Regions from separate parts of the Homo sapiens genome. Here all the other regions are linked to region 1. Evidence: promoter capture Hi-C in 16 types of primary human blood cells and fetal thymus (Javierre and others, 2016). All regions are on one chromosome and are shown on one strand. Each heading gives the region's core, a stretch centred on a gene start or on the middle of the fragment in contact. The rest is flanking DNA. Distances are from core to core; before and after follow the strand shown. Region 1 holds the start of COL17A1 (collagen type XVII alpha 1 chain). Region 2 overlaps SH3PXD2A (SH3 and PX domains 2A). Region 3 has its middle 9.2 kb from the start of SH3PXD2A. Region 4 overlaps STN1 (STN1 subunit of CST complex). Region 5 overlaps LOC124902497 (a long non-coding RNA gene). Region 6 holds the start of CFAP43 (cilia and flagella associated protein 43).

Region 1 (2,746 bases), core at 143-2,642:
TTCAGTGTTCTTCTACTATGAAACTGACGGAAGACATATTGAGTATTTATTTGGGGAAGGCAAGAACATCCTACAAAGCAAGTGTCAAATTCTGCATAATTGAAAGGGTTCTGAAATGCACGACTCCAGTGTGGAATATGGGCAGCTTAGGAGCAAGAGCCCCACAGCTGTTGTTGTGGTCTGCTACCCTTCCATGGGATGCAGTGCCCACAATAGCAAGGTGCAGTTGCACATCGGTGCTATGCTGTAAGGGCCCCACTGCTCCCCTCCAGTATCTTAGGATAATGCCTCAGAACTGGGAATCCCAGTGTGATGCTGGGTCCCAGGAATGTGCTATGGCCTCAAAGGACTGCCTGAGTGAGTTCCAGGTTCAGACTTCCCATTTTACCAACACCAAGTGTCTCAAGCTAGTCTTTAGGCCCCCTGGGAAGCCAGATGCTATCCAGGTATTCATAAGAATTATCCTGATTGATGCAAGTTGACCCTCTAGGGAAATCTAAAGGTCCCCAGGATGTACTTGGAGTTGCAGGACATCTGGGAGCCCACACATGTCTTTAGGTGTATGGAGACTATGCGGTCACCTGATTTGAAGGACAAGAAGGTCCTTATCCCTTCCCAACAGCACCTCTCTCCATTATTAGGTGGCTAAATGCCTAAAATTCCATCACTAACATGTCACTCTTTTAGGTCAGCATCACTATATCTGGTTGCCTCTTTTGTAAAACGAACCCCTACCCCACCAATTGCTCAGTACATTCAGTCATTAGCATATTATGAATTAGTTCACCAACTATTTTCTCCAGATGGGCTTGACCTGGCTTGAGTCACAAGAGGGGAAAGAGGACAAAGACATCTATAGGGGAAACAAGACAAAGGACACAGGACACAGGAACAGAGGACGAAGACATCTATAGGGGAAACAGATCTTGAATATAAATCCTGCCAACTTCAGTTTTTCTAGGGCTCAGGCAGTATGACCACAGGCCATCCATGTGCCTAGACCATGCTCATCCATGAGCCCATCCACGTGCCTAGACTCATGAATCATGCAGTGGGATTCCAGTACCCATGGCACTGAGGAAGGGTACTGCCACAAAGTTGTGGCAGTTCTCCAGCTGTAGAAGGTAGGCAATAAAAAAGCATTTCCTTTATGCTGGTCCTTTGTTTCCTTTTCCCCATGGGCCTTATAAATAGTTAATCTACCTAAGCTGGAAGGAGAAGCTTTCTGCCTCCAGTAAAGTTTGATTCCTGGAGGCAGATTTTTTTTTTAAATCCAGCAAGTGTCAGATAATTGGAAGGGTGGAGTAACGCTGTAAACCATGACACACCTTTGTCAGGACATGTTTGGAAGCAAAGAGTTGAAAGAAACAAGGTGGAGAGAAAGAAAAGTGAACATTTTTGAAAGATCACTCAGCTTTAACACACCTTGGCTGGGTCTGGATAAAAAAAAAGTGAGCACTGCAAATTTCTAGAAGAAAACATCAGGAGAAGAAAGAGAGAGGGGGATTTATTCAAAGTTGTTTCCAATTCCTTCAAAACCTCAAACCAGGTAAGTAAACAGGAAGACTGACCTTTCTCCTTTTCTCTGAGACTTTGATTTAAGGTTTGCCATTTAGAAATTAAATGTTTATTGGAGAAAAGAAGATGAAGTTCTGTAGTTTCTAGCATTCTGGTTAAAGTGATCAATTGGTTATAAAAGATGACTTTGGTGTATGCATTCTGCTTAGGGTAGGTCTTTCAAAGGAAATAAGTGGGGAAAAGGAGAAGGCTGAAGGCTGGTTAAAATATAGCGGGCTTTAGAGGCAAGACCTTTCTGCATTGTTTTCAGCATTGTAAAATGACTTGTGTTGTTTTATTTAGAATATGATACGGGCTTATAATTCCTTCTCTCCCAATCTCAGTTTCCTCTCTCGCTATCTTGCTCTCCTCTTCCCTCTGTCTCTCTCTCCACTGGACGAAGAGAACAACTCAGGGGTGAAGTTAAAGTATAGGTAAGGGGGCCTTCTAGAAACAGTCCCTGTGCTGACTGGGCCTCTCTGATTAAGCCATACATGGTAAACATTGCTGTTTACCATGCTGTAAAATTACCTCTAATCTAAAGAAAAGTAGGATCTTTGAAATGATCTGATTAATTCAGAAATTTTGCAGGATCAAACTTAGAGGAATAAAAAAAGGAAGAAAATTGTTTCCCGTATATATACTCTTACGAGTCAACTTGGGTTTCCTCCTGCCAAAAAAATTCACTTTGAGATGAGAATTACCAGTTTAGATACCTAAGTGGATGACGTTAACTGGTAACTGACAAATTATCACTTTACTTTTTGAAGTGGAGGCAAAACCTCTGGCACATTCCTTCTTTTGAGAAGTAGTTAATCAGTAGTCTAATAGTGGACTTGTAAAACGTAGCAAGATTTTTAAAAGGTATTTATTTGAAAAGCAGAATAGTTTCTTCTTACCTCCATATGTTCTCTCTTAGAGCTAAGGCACAGATCTGTCAGAACTAACCTAAGACAGATGTCTATCCCCACACAGACTCACTCCAGAGATTCAGAGGTGTCCTGCTTTACTCTTAGGCCCTGCAAAACACCCACATGAGTCTGATCAGAGTTTACACAGGAACAATTAAAGTGAACAGCTCTGCTTCAAGCTTGCATAGAAACTTACCAGCCTGGGTAACATGGCAAAACCCTGACTCTACAAAAAATACAAAATTAGCCAAGCATAGTGGTGTGCGTAGTGGTGCACA
Region 2 (2,746 bases), core at 106-2,605, 240 kb after region 1:
ACAGAGGTAGTGAAGAGTAGAATGGCGGCTACCAGAGGCCAGGTGGGAGGAATAAAGAGAGGTTGATTAATGAATACAAAAATACAGTTGGGTAGAAATAATACGTTTTAGTATTTGATAGTACAGTAAGGAAATTGTAGTTAACAATAATCTATTGCATATTTTACAGTAACTAGAAGAACTGGAATGTTCCCAGTACAAATAAAAGATAAGTGTTTGAGGTGATGGATATCCCCATGACCCCGATTTGATTATTACACATTGTATACAGGTATCAAATTATCACAGGTACCCCCAAAATTTGTATAACTATTATATATCATTTAAAAATAAGAATACAATAACAAAATAGGTCAAAAACATAGTGTATGAGATGGGGGTTGAATGGCGTAGGGAAAACTAAAGCCAGGTGAGGGAGACAGGCATGTTGGTGATGGTGGGAGTTGCTGTGCTTTTTTTTTTTTTTTTTTTGAGACGGAGTCTCGCTCTGTCGCCCAGGCTGCAGTGTAGTGGTGCGATCTCGGCTCACTGCAAGCTCCACCTCCCGGGTTCACGCCATTCTCCTGCCTCAGCCTCCCGAGTAGCTGGGACTACAGGCACCCGCCACCACACCCAGCTAATTTTTTTGTATTTTTAGTGGAGACAGGATTTCACCATGTTGGCCAGGATGGTCTTGATCTCCTGACCTCGTGATCCACCCGTCTCGGCCTCCCAGAGTGCTGGGATTACAGGCGTGAGCCACTGCACCCGGCCTTGCTGTGCTATTTTATAGAGGGTGGCCAAGGACAGCCCCACTGTAGAGGTGGCTTTTGAGTAAGACTTGAGGGAGGTGAGGAAGTGAGCCCTGTGGCTATCTGGGGGAAAGTGGTTGAGGGAGAGGGAACAACAGGTGCCAAGGCCCCGAGGTGGCTGGTGTGGCCTGAGTGGAGTGAGAGAGGGGAGAGCAGCAGGTCATGGGGTCAGATAGGGAAAAGGGTCACGTTGAGCCTTGTATCCCTCCCCACCCTGCACAGCATGCTCTGCTCAGCAGTGAGGCCTCATGATGACCTAATGGAGACTGAAACTGGCCAAAACACTGCCAGAGAGGTGGCTTCAAGGACTGCTTGGGGTTTGACCCTGACCCCCTTTAAAAGAGACCTCCTGGGGAAACACAGTCTCCATCAGCAGCGTCATGGGTAGGAACTCCAGGGCCCCAAAGGCAGGGTACACACCAGGAAGCTTCACTGGCTGAACATTATTTTTGTGCCTACTGTGTGCAAGGTGCTGTGTTGAAAGCAGTGCTCCAGCTGGGAGCCAGGAGGCAGGTAGGGGCGTGAATTCCTGCAAAAGCAGCGACCACATCCTTTCATCTTTAACGCCCCCTCCTCATGCTAGCAGAGGGTCTGGATCATGGTGCGTCCTGGATCAGTGTGATAAATCCCTGGACAAAGGCTTCATTCTACTAAAGCCCCTTCCCCTCCGACCTCATACTCCTATTTTTACTGAAGCTTCTAACTTACAGTTGCTGAAGTTAGTTGTTAGAAACTCAAAACACATGTTCCTATCAGTATTGTATCGTAAATGGTGTTAAGATTCTCAAGTCAGCCCACCAAAACTTTTCTCATCCTCAGAGTAGATTTGTATCCCTGACAACCAGATATCTCTAGTTCACCTACAGCATAGGCTAACCTGGGAGCCTAAATGCTGTGTGTAACATCCAGGGAAACTGTCTTCCATTGTTCACAGTGAGAAGGAAACCCTAAGGCTACATAACAATAACAACCGTAACAACAGCAGCATGAACGATGTGCCCGCCACTAAGCACATCACTCATTTAATCCTTGCAACAGACTATGAGAAAAGCACTATTATGGTCCTTCCATTACTCAGAGAGAACAGAGGCAGAGAGAGATGCATGAGATGCATTTACCAATGGTCACAAGCTAGGAAGGGGCAGAGCCGGGTTCAGAGCCAGGCAGCGGGACTCCAGAGTCCTTCGCGAAACCTCTTGTTTCCTGGCCTTCCGGGAATCCCGCCAGCCAGCCTTGCTGCAGCCCAGGGTGGCTGTCTGTAGACCTTACGTTCAGGACACTTGTCATTAGGTGTTAACAAGTGTCAGGGTGAGGGAACAAAAGCCACGGGTGGCCAGTATGAGCAGTTTCTCTTTCTTCTCCCAGACAGGAAAAACCATTTGTTTCTGGAACCTGACACTGCAGGGGGTGGGCTTGGTGTATGTGGCCGCCTTCCTGGGCCATTTACAAGTGCAGCACATGGGTCTGGGGAGGGGGCTGGGCCGGGGTGGCGATGTGTTTATTGGTGGAAGCTAGATTAGGGTGTCTGGCAAGATGTTTTTGACACCTAGACCATTCCACTCAGTGAAACCCAACAGGTGGCCAGGCTGTTGCTTTAGCTGGAAGCGGGGCAACCTCCCCGCCCTGCCCTGTTCAGTTTATTGTTGGAATGAGATGGGTCCTAACCAGTCCTTCCTCTCTTCCCTGGCCCCAAAATAAACAGCAGCTGTTGTTGGCGCCATCATTTCTGCCTCTGCCAGTCTGTCAGCAGCGCTGGGCTCTTGCCTGGCCTTGCCCTTTTTGATTTGATGGCACTGGGCGTTGGGAGCCCTTTACCTTTGCCCTACGGAGCCTGCCCTGCTGACCAGCTGGTGTGCCCTAACATGCCCTCTCCCAGGCCTGGTGGCTGCCCACTGGCACTGTCCTCTCCGGCCCTGTAGTGAGGCATGTGTGCATGGCGGTTGCAAACTCGGACT
Region 3 (2,746 bases), core at 139-2,638, 220 kb after region 1:
TTATACTAGAGATTTTCAAGCTGTGTCTCATAAACCTGTAAGGTGCTTCCAGGATTTCACAAACATTTTATTCAAATAGCAATTAAATATATGTGTCTTGCTGTGTTGCCCAGGCTGGAATGCAGCGGCTATTCACAAGCACTAACATAGCACACTATAGCCTTGAACTCTGGGGCTCAAGCAATCCTCCTACCCCAACCTCCCAAGTAGCCAGGGACTACAGATGTGTGCCACCATGCCCAGTACAACTAAAAACATTTTAAATTTATTTTTAAATGACAAAGAATGCAAACAACATCAAACCATATTTAATATAGTATTTGAACTAAAATGTGAATATCCAAATTTTGGTCTAACAGAGTAGAGTGATTTGTAGAAGGCTAACCCCTCCTACAGATCATAATTACAAACTCTGGACAAGGTGAAAATAAAAACCTGTTTGATGCCACTGGATGACGACCAGACTAAAGGAAGGGGACTTGTTCCTTGAAAGAAGGAAGACACTCCGGGTGAGGTCCACACTTGTATGACTTTCCCCTAAGGGCAGCCATTCTTGAACTTTAGTGTATATTAGAATCCCAGAGGAAGATAACAGAATCCAGTCTCTACAATATACCATTTACAATGTTCACTATATAAAAATTATTAGATATGTGAAGAAAGAGAGAAATGTGACCCATAATCAAGAGATATACTAGTCAATAGAAACAGACTCACAGACAACTCTGATGTCAGACTGGCAGAGAAGGGCTTTAAAATACCTTTGATAAATGTGTTAAAGAGTCTTTGGAAAAGATGCATATACTGGGTAAAGAGATGGGAAATTTAGAAGAGATCAGGAAACTGTAAAAAACTATATGGAAATCCTAGAACTGAAAAACATACTATCTGAAAAGTGAATCTCCTGCTTCACATCCTCACTCCCATTCCAACCTTCTGCCCTGGAGTTAAACACCTGTAGTAGTCTTTGGTTATAAATGATAAAGATCTTACTCCAGCTTATGCCAAGGTGGTAAGGTATAAGAGAGAATACCTAATGAAACAGTGGGGAGGGACAGAGTGGCACTGGTTTAGGGTCAATTGGCCCTAGGAATCCAAATGCTGGGAAGATGCTCTTGTTTCTCTCTCTTCCTGCCTCTGAGATTTGGCTGTATCCTCTCTCACTGTGAACATTATCCTCTGTGTTGTCAGAGAGATGGCTGGGGTCAGCTCTGGGCTGATAGCTTCACAGCTCTGAGAGGAAAGAGGTTCTCTTCCCACAGCACCGGTTAGAAAAGTCCCAAGGAGGGTGTCTGATTAGTCCAGTATGTGTTACAGGTGCGTGCCACCATGCCCAGCTAATTTTTGTATTTTTCGTAGAGACGGGATTTCACCATGTTGGCCAGGATGGTCTCGAACTCCTGACCTCATAATCTACCCGCCTTGGCCTCCCAAAGTGCTAGGATTACAGGCATGAGCCACCGTGCCTGGCCTATTTTATTTCATTTTTTGAAACAGGATCTCACTATATTGCCCAGGCTGGTCTCGAATTCCAGAACTCAAGCAATGCTGAGTAGCTGGAATTACAGGTGCTCACCACCATGCCAGCTTTTCGTGTTCATCTTAATACTTTTACCACAGATGTATGTATCCCTAAAATATGTATATTATGTATAGTATTGTTCTTTATGTTTAACATTTACATAAATGGTATACTGTCCATGTCTTTCTGCAACTTGCATTGTTTTTACTCACCAGAATCTAAGAGGTGATTGCTGATTTGTTTAGTTTTATTTCATTCATTCTTTTCTTTTTTATTGAGGTATCACATCTGTACATTGAATACACAACTCCAGTGCCCGACTCAAAACCTCCACCCAGATCAAGGTGGAGACCATTTCCAGCACCCCGTAGTCTCTGTGCCCCTCCTAGCTCATACCTCTCAGAGGCAACCACTGTCCTGACCTCCAGCACCATCAATTAATTTTGTCTGTCTTGAACTTTATATAAGTGGAATCACACATATGTACCCTTTGAGTGTGTCTTTTATTTTTGGTACAATATTGTGTCTGTGAGCCTCATCCAGTGTGTTGCATGAAGCAGTAGTTTTGTCTTTGTCATGGGTATATAGTGTTCTGTTGTGTGAATATAACATTTGTGATATTGTGAAATATATTTGGCCTTAGTCCTCTGTTCTTGACATAAAACTCCTAAAATATTTGGTATCTTCAAAGTGATGTGTCCTTTTGTATGCAAATGAGTTGACTGGTGGCTAGTAACTCTGGGTAGCTTCAGGATGGGGGCTGGTCACTGGAAAGACCAAGGCAGGATTAGAGGGTTGGGACTTTCATCCCACCCTTAACATCCAACAAGAGGAGAGGGTCCTCCATGCTGCTGGTCAGTGTCTACTGGGAGTCTTTCCTGCCCTCGGCCTAGGATGGGCCTCTGCTCTGTGTTCCTGAGGCTCCCTGTATTTCTTCTGGAGCACTACTCATCAGAACTGGACAAAGCCAGGTCAGTTCCCTGTGGTATCAATCCACAAGGCCTGCAAAAACATCACTGTGATAAATAAACTGGAAGTATGATAGCAGGTGGCTCGAGTTTCCACACATGTACCTCTATCTGTGTAACTGGTGAAATATACATCAGTGCTGCAGAAATTTGGGAGGAGATCAGGAGACACTCTCTTCTCCTTACAGAATCTAGAAGTAATTAATTGGCACTTTTTTTTCTTTTTCTTTTTCTTTTTTCTTTTTTTTTTTTTTGA
Region 4 (2,746 bases), core at 129-2,628, 180 kb after region 1:
TTGGTGCTCACTGCTTCCTAAGCCTACAAGAATGTGAATAGGTTACAGGGAGTTTCAGCAATTCATTTTTACCATGCCCATTATTACATAAGTCAAGGTGTCTTAGCCTAATTGCAAGTCAGGTCTGAATCCCCTTGTCCCAGCCATATCACTTGACCAAAGAACATTTTGAAGACTGTTTCTCTCACATGGTTGCCACTAACTTCTGTGCTGCCATGGTCCAGATTTTCTAAAATCTCTGTGTTCAAACAAATAATACCAGGAATTCTAAGACTGAGAAGGTAAGATAGGATTCCTTTGGAAATTATCCATTAAGTAATATAAATTAAAAGAACTTTAAAATTGTATAGTGAATACATTGACTATAACTGAAACAACATTTGGAGTTGCTTGAATATATTTTAATAATTTTTAGATACTTTTTTTTTTTTTTAAAGTTAGGTTCTCACTATGTTTCCAGGGCTGGTCTCAAACTCCTGGACACAAGTGATCCTCCTGCCTCAGCCTCCCAAAGTGTTAGGATTACAGGCTTGAGCCACCACACCCGGCCTAATTTTTAGATATTTTTTAATTTAAGTTCATAATATGAAAGAATATCGTGCAATATTGGTGATGGTTTTTGGTTCTAGAGAAGCTTTGAAAACTGGAACCTTGTTTTTCCTGTGTTTTACAACATATACAGTATAGTGCCATACACAGTGGGGTTATTCAGTAAACACTGCCTGCTCTAATATCTAACATCTAGTATCTATCTACTTGCATTATGTATGGTAAGAATATCTAGTGCTTAGAGTCGTTTCTTCTTTTTTGCCATTACGTGTCAGAATCTCAACTTTGTACTTTGACTATACCGATCAATGGAATGCTCATTTGCTTAATTTTCTGATGTATTTACATTTAGAATTTGGCCATCAGTTTCATGTAACTTTGGAATTCTAATTCCTAATTTGGGAACATCTAAATCAATGGCATTGCTTTGGTGAGGAAGGTTTGTAGATAGATTTAAGGGAGACAACGTGTTTTTAGGCAGATACCTCATAGGCAAGAAATAAACCTATGAGACAATCAGGTATCTGGATTTTTATGTATGTCTGAGGTGTTTTTCTTAATCTGTTTTGTGCTGCTGTTACAGAATACCTAAGACTGGGTAATTTTATAAAGAAAGAAATTTATTTCTCATAGTTCTGGAGGCCAGAAATTCCAAGATCAAAGTTTTGGTGTCTGGTGAGGTCCGGGTTTCCCCTCCAAGATGGCACCTTGAATGCTTCATCCTCCAGAGGGGAGGAGAACTGTTCCTCACATGGCAGAAGAGCGTGAGAATGAGAACCACTTCTGCAAACCCATTTTATAGTGGCCTTAATTCATTCATGAGAGTGGAGCTCTCATAACCTAAACACCTCCCATTAGACCCCATCTTCTAACACTGTTGCATTGGGGGTTAAATTTCTAACACATGAGATTTTGAGGGGACAAAAACATTGAAACTTGTTTTTGTCAAACTGTAGCAGTATTAAAATCATTTGCAGATTTTTGGTTGTTGTCACAATCTTCAGTCAGAAGGTGTAGTTTGAATATGCGTACTTGTTCTAGATGGGGAGTCAGCAAAGTTTTTCTGTAAAGGGCCATATTTTCTGTTTGTGCACCCTATGGTCTGTGTGTCTCAACTATTCAACGCTGCCATTATAACAGAAAGTAACCATAGGTAGTACATAAGCAAATGGGCATGGCTGTGTTCCAATAAAACTTTATTTTAAAAAACAGGCTGTGGATGGATTTGGTCCATGGGCTATAGTTTGCAGACCCCTGTTTTAGTCATTGTTTCAGTTTTCAAAATTAACTCTTTTTAAAGAAATAGCATCATCAGGAATATATAATTCTTATACTTCGTAATTTTTTAGATCAACAAAATGGGTATTAATACTGAGAGTCAGATTTTTAAAATATCAATAAGTAGATGAATGGATGAACAATCACAGTAGGTAGCCTTAAGATTGCTTTGCAAATATAACGAGAAGGTAAGAGTAGAAGGAGAAAACCTAAAAATGATTCTCATCGTCTTTAAATTGTTCCCAACTAGCCCATTCTCTCCTTTTAATTTAATTGCCCTTAGTTTAAAAGCTTTCCATTGGAAGGTGGCCAGCAAAGACTAATTTTTTAAACAAAATTTAGTCTGAGTCAAAATCATGTTCCACTCAGTTAAAGTAAAAGAATATAATATTAGCTTTCATAAATGTCACATTGAATGTACCATTTGGACTTAGCTTATGAGCAAAGTTAAGATTTCCTGGCCCTGAGTATTCGAATGTTAAAGGGGATTTATCTTTCATGATGGAATAGACACTGAAAGTGAAGTTCTGTCAGGCTCCAGTCTTCTCATTATATTCATTTAATTACACAGCTTGAGCCTCCTTTTGGCAACTTGGCTCACCCTTTAAGTGAAAGGTGGGCCTCTTTTTCTCAGACCAACCATCAGTCTGATCATTTCAGTGGTGCTATGTGAAGCATTTATTATCACCTATAATGTCTGCATAATGACAATGAGATTTATAAATACCTTTAAAATTCAGCCTAAGTAGAAGAGGGCCTGGGGATAGGAACTGCTACTTTTGAAAAAGTAGCAGTTGGGGATTTTTTGAAGAAACCCAGTAAGCTCTGAGCAGCGGTAATGCTGATTGCGTCCAGGTTCCTACCTGGACTCACTGAATGCACAGAGTTCTCTGTGCTCCCTATGTTGCTGTTTCCCTGG
Region 5 (2,746 bases), core at 173-2,672, 160 kb before region 1:
TTCTTAATAACCTAAGAGACTAATCTGAGAGGATTCTGCTGGTTAAAGATCAAGAGTTCATGCCATTGCACTCCAGCCTGGGCAACAGAGTGAGTGAGACTTTGTCTCAAAAAAAAAAAAAAAAAAGAAGAAGCTTGAATAGAAAAAAAATTGAGGGGATATTAAAAGTCCATTGAAAGAAGAATGGATAAATTGTGTTGTATTCATATAATGGACATCTACCCAACAATGAAAACAAATAGTCTACAGCTATAGTTATCAACTTAAATCCCTCTCAAAAACATGATATTGAGCCAGAATAGCAAGTCACAATAATATATATGGTATGATTCTACATGTGTTAACTTTAAAAACAGGCAAAGTGAAACAGCACATTAGTTATGGCTCATGCATACATGGTAGAATTGAAAAGCAGGGAACAATAATCACAGAATTCAGGATGGTAGCTACATCCAGGGGAAAGGAAGGGAATGGAAAAGGGTGGGTGCATGATGTAGGGAGGTGCTTCCAGGGTATTGGTTCCCTTCTGTTTCTTCAGTTGGAAGGTGGCTTCTAGAGAATGGCATTGAGATGGGAAAGGATCAGGTGGGGAGAAATGAGGTGGCGACTGCTGTCATTTGAAAAGCTTTCTATTCACTTTGATTTTTTACTCTTAATATACGCTATATTGGGAAAAATTAAGATTTAAGAAACATTTTTTAAAGAACAGGAAAAAAAAAACCTACTGTTAAAAGACAACTGTTAAAAGTAATGAAGTAGATTCATATATACTGATGCAGAAACATGCCAGAGATACACTGTTAAATAAAAATGTTGTAAAACAGCATGCAGGAGGTAATCTCATCTGTTGAATGTACATGTCCTGCCAGTTATCTCCTAAATGTTCTACCTGGAAAGTCTTTAATCCTCACAACAATCCTAAGATTTAAATACTGTTAATATTACCATCTCAGGGATAGGGAAACTGGGGGGCACAGGTTAAGTGATTTTCTCAAAATCAATATATTTTTTATGGTGGAGATGGGTTGTCAACTCTGGTCTTGTGTCTGGAATTTATTCCTTCCGGTGGGTTCTTGGTCTCGCTGACTTCAAGAATGAAGCTGCGGACCCTCGCAGTGAGTGTTACAGTTCTTAAAGATCGTGTGTCCAGAGTTTGTTCCTTCAGATGTTCAGATGTGTCCGGAGTTTCTTCCTTCTGGTGGGTTCATGGTCTCGCTGACTTCAGGAGTGAAGCTGCAGACCTTTGCAGTGAGTCTTATAGCTCTTAAAGGTGCTGCGTCCAGAGTTGTTTGTTCCTCCCGGGGGTTTACGGTCTCACTGACTTCAGGAATGAAGCTGCAGACCCTCACAGTGAGTGTTACAGCTCATAAACCTAGTGCAGACCCAAAGAGTGAGCAGCAGTAAGATTTATTGTGAAGAGCAAAAGAACAAAGCTCCCACAGCCCGGAAGGGGACTCCAGCCTGTTGCCCCTGCTGGCTCCGGTGGCCAGCTTTTATTCCCTTATTTGGCCCCGCCCATGTCGTGCTGTTTGGTCCATTTTACGGAGTGCTGATTGGTCCGTTTTTAACAGAGTGCTGATTGGTGCGTTTACAAACCTTTAGTTAGACACAGAGCGCTGATTGGTGCATTTTTACAGAGTGCTCATTGGTGTGTTTACAAACCTTTAGCTAGACACAGAGTGCTGATTTGCGTGTTTACAACCATTTAGCTAGACAGAAAAGTACTCCAAGTCCCTACCCGATCCAGAAGCCCAGCTGGCTTCACCCATCAGTCTGACACCTAAGTCTGATCGAGAGATCAGGTAGCAGTTAAGACTGCTACCATATCTCATGGATTCTAAGATTCACATTTCTTCATGTTTAAATACCTCTAAAAATGGAAGTGTATCTAAAATTACAGCAGGCTGTGTAGCAGTTTTGACACTGATGTTATTGCTCTTGCTTGGACTTGCAGGGTAGCTGTCAATGGCTTTGGAAGAAAATCCCAGAGATAACAGAACATTCTTGCTGCATTATGGAATTAAATGATCTTCTTGGCACAGAGGACAATGCTATGGGATGAATGAGTTGGGGAAATGAATGCCTATGATGCTGATTTTAAAAATTATTCAAAAGAGCTGGATTCTAAAAGTTGAATGAATACTTTATATAACTTATATTTTCCTTTTTATACTTGCACAAGAGTAAAATAGAATAAAAATCATTTCTAAATAAGCTTAAGAGTTCTTTTATCATAAAAATCTGGGCTTAAAAGAGCTCTTTCAATAAGCGTTAAATAAAAATTTTAGGATTCTGTTGTAATTTAATTGGTTATTTATTTAATTATTCCCTCCTTGTCAGTTGATCTTAGAGCTGACTAAATACAGTTTGTCTCCCTCACAGTCCCCCTAAAGTACTTACTGACATTTTTAAAGAAAAAAATGTATTTTATTTAATGTCCAATAAAAAATACATACACACACACACACCCCTAAAACAGAATTTACACTTACCATTGGGATGCACTGTGAAGTTTTTTTGTTCCGTTCATTTTAAAGACATGTTGGTTACAACTTAGTAAGCAGATCTTACCAACCACTAATACGTTCCAACTCAGAACTGCTCTAGAGCACAAATGTGTGTTATAAATGCTAATTAACAATTTAAGGGAAATTTATAGCCTTCCTTCTGAGAATTAGCTCACAATAGTATTCTATGAACTCAGAAAAAAAATTTAAAAAACTAACATAGTCTTGTTACCATGTAT
Region 6 (2,746 bases), core at 85-2,584, 150 kb before region 1:
CAAGACAGGAAGGAAAGACCTAAAGAAAGGAAGGGAAGGGTAGAGAAGGGAAGACGACTGAAGGGAAAGGAAGAAGGGTAAGGGAGGGAGTCTAAGGGAAGGTATGGGAGAGAAGAAGGAATGACAAGCTGCCGACCATTCAATCAGGTTACTTCCAGAGCTGTCTGCTTCCCTGAGGAAGCAAGAGGGTACATTTCAAAGTGTTATATGGTACTTAAGGGCTTGGAGCTCTAAATTAGCTAGACCTGCGTTTAAGTCCCACTCAGGGCTGGGCAAGGTGGCTCACGCCTGTAATCGCAGCACTCTGGGAGGCCAAGGCGGGCGAATCACTTGAGGTCAAGAATTTGAAACCAGCCTGGTCATCATGGTGAAAACCCGTCTCTACTAAAAATACAAAAAATTAGCTGGGCATGGTAGCACGTGCCTGTAATCTCAGCTACTTGGGAGGCTGAGGCAGGAGAATCGCTTGAACCCAGGAGATGGAGGTTGCAGTGAGCCAAGATCAAGCCACTGCCCTCCAGCCTGGGCAACGGAGTGAGACCCTATCTCAAAAATAAATAAATAAATAATATAAATAAATAAAGTCCCACTCAACTTTGTAGCCATGGACAAATTATGTGCTTCTCTTTTCCTCACGTTACTTATCTGTAAAATGGGGCTGATGGGAGATGTGAAGACGTTGCAACAATGTTTGGCACAGTCAGCACTCTAAATGAAAGTCTGTTTAGAAATTTATTGATTTTTAAAAATAATTATTTATTTAGAGACAGGTCTCGCTCTGTCGCCCAGGCTGGAGTGCTGTGGCGTCATCCCAGCTCACCGCAGCCTTGAACTCCTGGGCTCAAGCGATCCTCCCACTTCAGTCTCCCAAGTAGCTGGGACTACAGGCGTGCACCACCATGCCCGGCTGCTTTTTAAATTTTTTTGTAGAGATGCGGCACGGGCGCGGCAGGTTTCGCTATGTCTTCCAGGCTGGTCTTCAACTCCTAGCCTCAAGCGATCCTCCCGCTCTGACCTTCGAAAGCGCGGAGATTGTAGGCATGAGTCTTACTTGCAATTATTGGCCCGGACCTGGGGAAATTTGTTAAAATGCAGATTCTGATTGAGTAGATCTGGTGTGGGAGCCAAGTTTCTGCATTTATAACAAGCTTCCCAGGTAGCACCAATGTTGCTGGTAAACAGACCACACTTTGAACAGCAAGGGGCCCGCCCCTCGCTTGGCTTGCCGCTCACCCATTGGCCGAGAGCGGCAGACCTTCCACCAATCTGCTCGGCTCAGAAGGGAGCGGGCCAAAGCGCAGAGCCAATGGGCGCGGGGCTTACGGTCTCCGGGATACGGGTGTACACAGCAGCGGCGTCGCGGCCCGCAGCCCCGCGGCGGCGGAAAGGTAACCGACCCGCCCTGGGGTGCTGCGTGCGCTGCCTGCTCCCGCCTGAGGAAAACACTGCCCATGGCGCAAGGCCGGGAGCGCGACGAAGGCCCCCACTCCGCCGGCGGCGCGTCCTTGTCCGTGAGGTGCGGTGTTCACGGCCCCGCGACCGATCTGGGTCTCGCGGAACCTCCTGCCCCAAGTCCCCTCCTCCCTCCTCTCCCTCCGGTTCCTTAGGGCGGCTTTCCCCGCAGCTTCGACCTCTTCCCCTCTGCCCCCAGTGCCTTCCCTCAGCCTCCCTCCCCGTGTGACCTCCCCTGTCCGCTCCCCATCCCCTTGTTCCTTGACCCCGTCCCCAGTTGTCTTTCCCACTCCTTATTCTGCGACCCTGACCCTCCGTCTCTTACCCAGCAACGTCCCCTGCACCCTTCATCTCTTCCTTCTAGCTCAGGATTCCCGCTAGTGATCCGGGTCTTCTGATCACATCCCCCTCCCCCTCCACCTGGCGACAGCCCGGATCCCGTCCTTGCTACCTTTGGTGATTTTCCCCAAAGTTAGGTCCCTGAATCCTTTCCTTCTAACTCCTATCCACTAGCTTTGGATTTATTTGCATTTATAGTAGCCTTTGAAAAGCATCAAGCACTGCGCAGATATAGGTGGCATTTTTTCCCCTACATTCTAGAGTGTTCCTCCCAGCCCCCACCTCCACTCTATACAGCATCCCCTGCTAGTCCTGGACACTCTAATGTCTCGAGGTTTCTCACCAAACCAGTGTCCTTCACTTGCCTTTTCCACCATCTTCAAGCATACCTTTAATATTTAAATAAAAATAGAATCTCCTTCATCTCCTCTCCTTTCTAGCATACACCTAGCACGCACTCCTTACTTGAGAGTATGTTCTTTTTGTGTGCTAGCCTTTCATTCACGTCGACTTCATTCCTTTTATTTTCTACGTTTATCTGTATTTTTAAATCTAAAATATGGCCACATACTCTTCATCTGTGTAAATAAGCAATTTTCCTACTCTGCTAACAACCACAAAGCAGGCTGTCCTATGCAAAGTTGTTTTTTAAAGTTTATTTAAAAAAATCAAACTAATTATAAAAGAATGGCCCAGGATGCCACTGTGTTGAGATCAAGCTCTTTTCTCTGTTATTTTCACTTTTTGTCTTCCAAGTATAGAAGACCCCAGAAGTCCTTCTGAGACTTTCTCAGGTTTGGTCAGAGAGTTTCCTTTGCTGAAAAAGTTATCTGAAGAAGGCCTGGGAGACCTACGGAACTTTAGGTCTACATTTAAATTTCTATAATTCATTGACTCAAATGGATCTCACAGCCAGCATGTGTGTTCTTTTATCTTAGAAATTGGGGGCAGAAAG

Evidence for each region. The method cuts DNA at HindIII sites, captures the fragments that hold promoters and counts their contacts. A CHiCAGO score of 5 or more calls a contact.
Region 2: a contact is called between a fragment that was not itself captured here and the fragment with the promoter of COL17A1 in region 1, in 2 of 17 cell types (naive CD8 T cells and total CD8 T cells). The highest score is 5.3, in naive CD8 T cells.
Region 3: a contact is called between a fragment that was not itself captured here and the fragment with the promoter of COL17A1 in region 1, in 8 of 17 cell types (total CD8 T cells, total CD4 T cells, fetal thymus and 5 more). The highest score is 8.4, in total CD8 T cells.
Region 4: a contact is called between a fragment that was not itself captured here and the fragment with the promoter of COL17A1 in region 1, in 6 of 17 cell types (naive CD4 T cells, activated CD4 T cells, naive B cells and 3 more). The highest score is 6.8, in naive CD4 T cells.
Region 5: a fragment that was not itself captured here is called in contact with the fragment with the promoter of COL17A1 in region 1 in 1 of 17 cell types (endothelial precursors); the score reaches 5.6 in endothelial precursors.
Region 6: a contact is called between the fragment with the promoter of CFAP43 here and the fragment with the promoter of COL17A1 in region 1, in 10 of 17 cell types (endothelial precursors, activated CD4 T cells, M1 macrophages and 7 more). The highest score is 10.2, in endothelial precursors.

What each region holds. Positions count from the first base shown.
Region 1 is chr10:104,084,526-104,087,271 of GRCh38, reverse strand. COL17A1 (collagen type XVII alpha 1 chain) reads left to right here and starts at 1,392. Exons shown (of 56, transcript NM_000494.4): 1 at 1,392-1,549. The HindIII fragment of the contact is 1,426 bases long and covers 1,224-2,649 here.
Region 2 is chr10:103,839,850-103,842,595 of GRCh38, reverse strand. All of the region lies in intron 1 of SH3PXD2A (SH3 and PX domains 2A), which reads left to right. Among named protein-coding and RNA genes, the nearest start is that of SH3PXD2A, 14 kb to the left of the region's middle. The HindIII fragment of the contact is 269 bases long and covers 1,221-1,489 here.
Region 3 is chr10:103,863,378-103,866,123 of GRCh38, reverse strand. No RefSeq gene overlaps it. Among named protein-coding and RNA genes, the nearest start is that of SH3PXD2A, 9.2 kb to the right of the region's middle. The HindIII fragment of the contact is 3,925 bases long and covers 1-2,746 here.
Region 4 is chr10:103,902,138-103,904,883 of GRCh38, reverse strand. The region is part of intron 4 of STN1 (STN1 subunit of CST complex); the gene reads left to right. Among named protein-coding and RNA genes, the nearest start is that of STN1, 15 kb to the left of the region's middle. The HindIII fragment of the contact is 1,484 bases long and covers 637-2,120 here.
Region 5 is chr10:104,247,801-104,250,546 of GRCh38, reverse strand. LOC124902497 (a long non-coding RNA gene) reads left to right here. Exons shown (of 2, transcript XR_007062284.1): 2 at 1,955-2,214. Among named protein-coding and RNA genes, the nearest start is that of GSTO1, 5.7 kb to the left of the region's middle. The HindIII fragment of the contact is 1,590 bases long and covers 628-2,217 here.
Region 6 is chr10:104,230,952-104,233,697 of GRCh38, reverse strand. CFAP43 (cilia and flagella associated protein 43) reads left to right here and starts at 1,334. Exons shown (of 38, transcript NM_025145.7): 1 at 1,334-1,516. The coding sequence starts at 1,452. RefSeq lists an enhancer at 1,213-1,507. The HindIII fragment of the contact is 2,497 bases long and covers 1,151-2,746 here.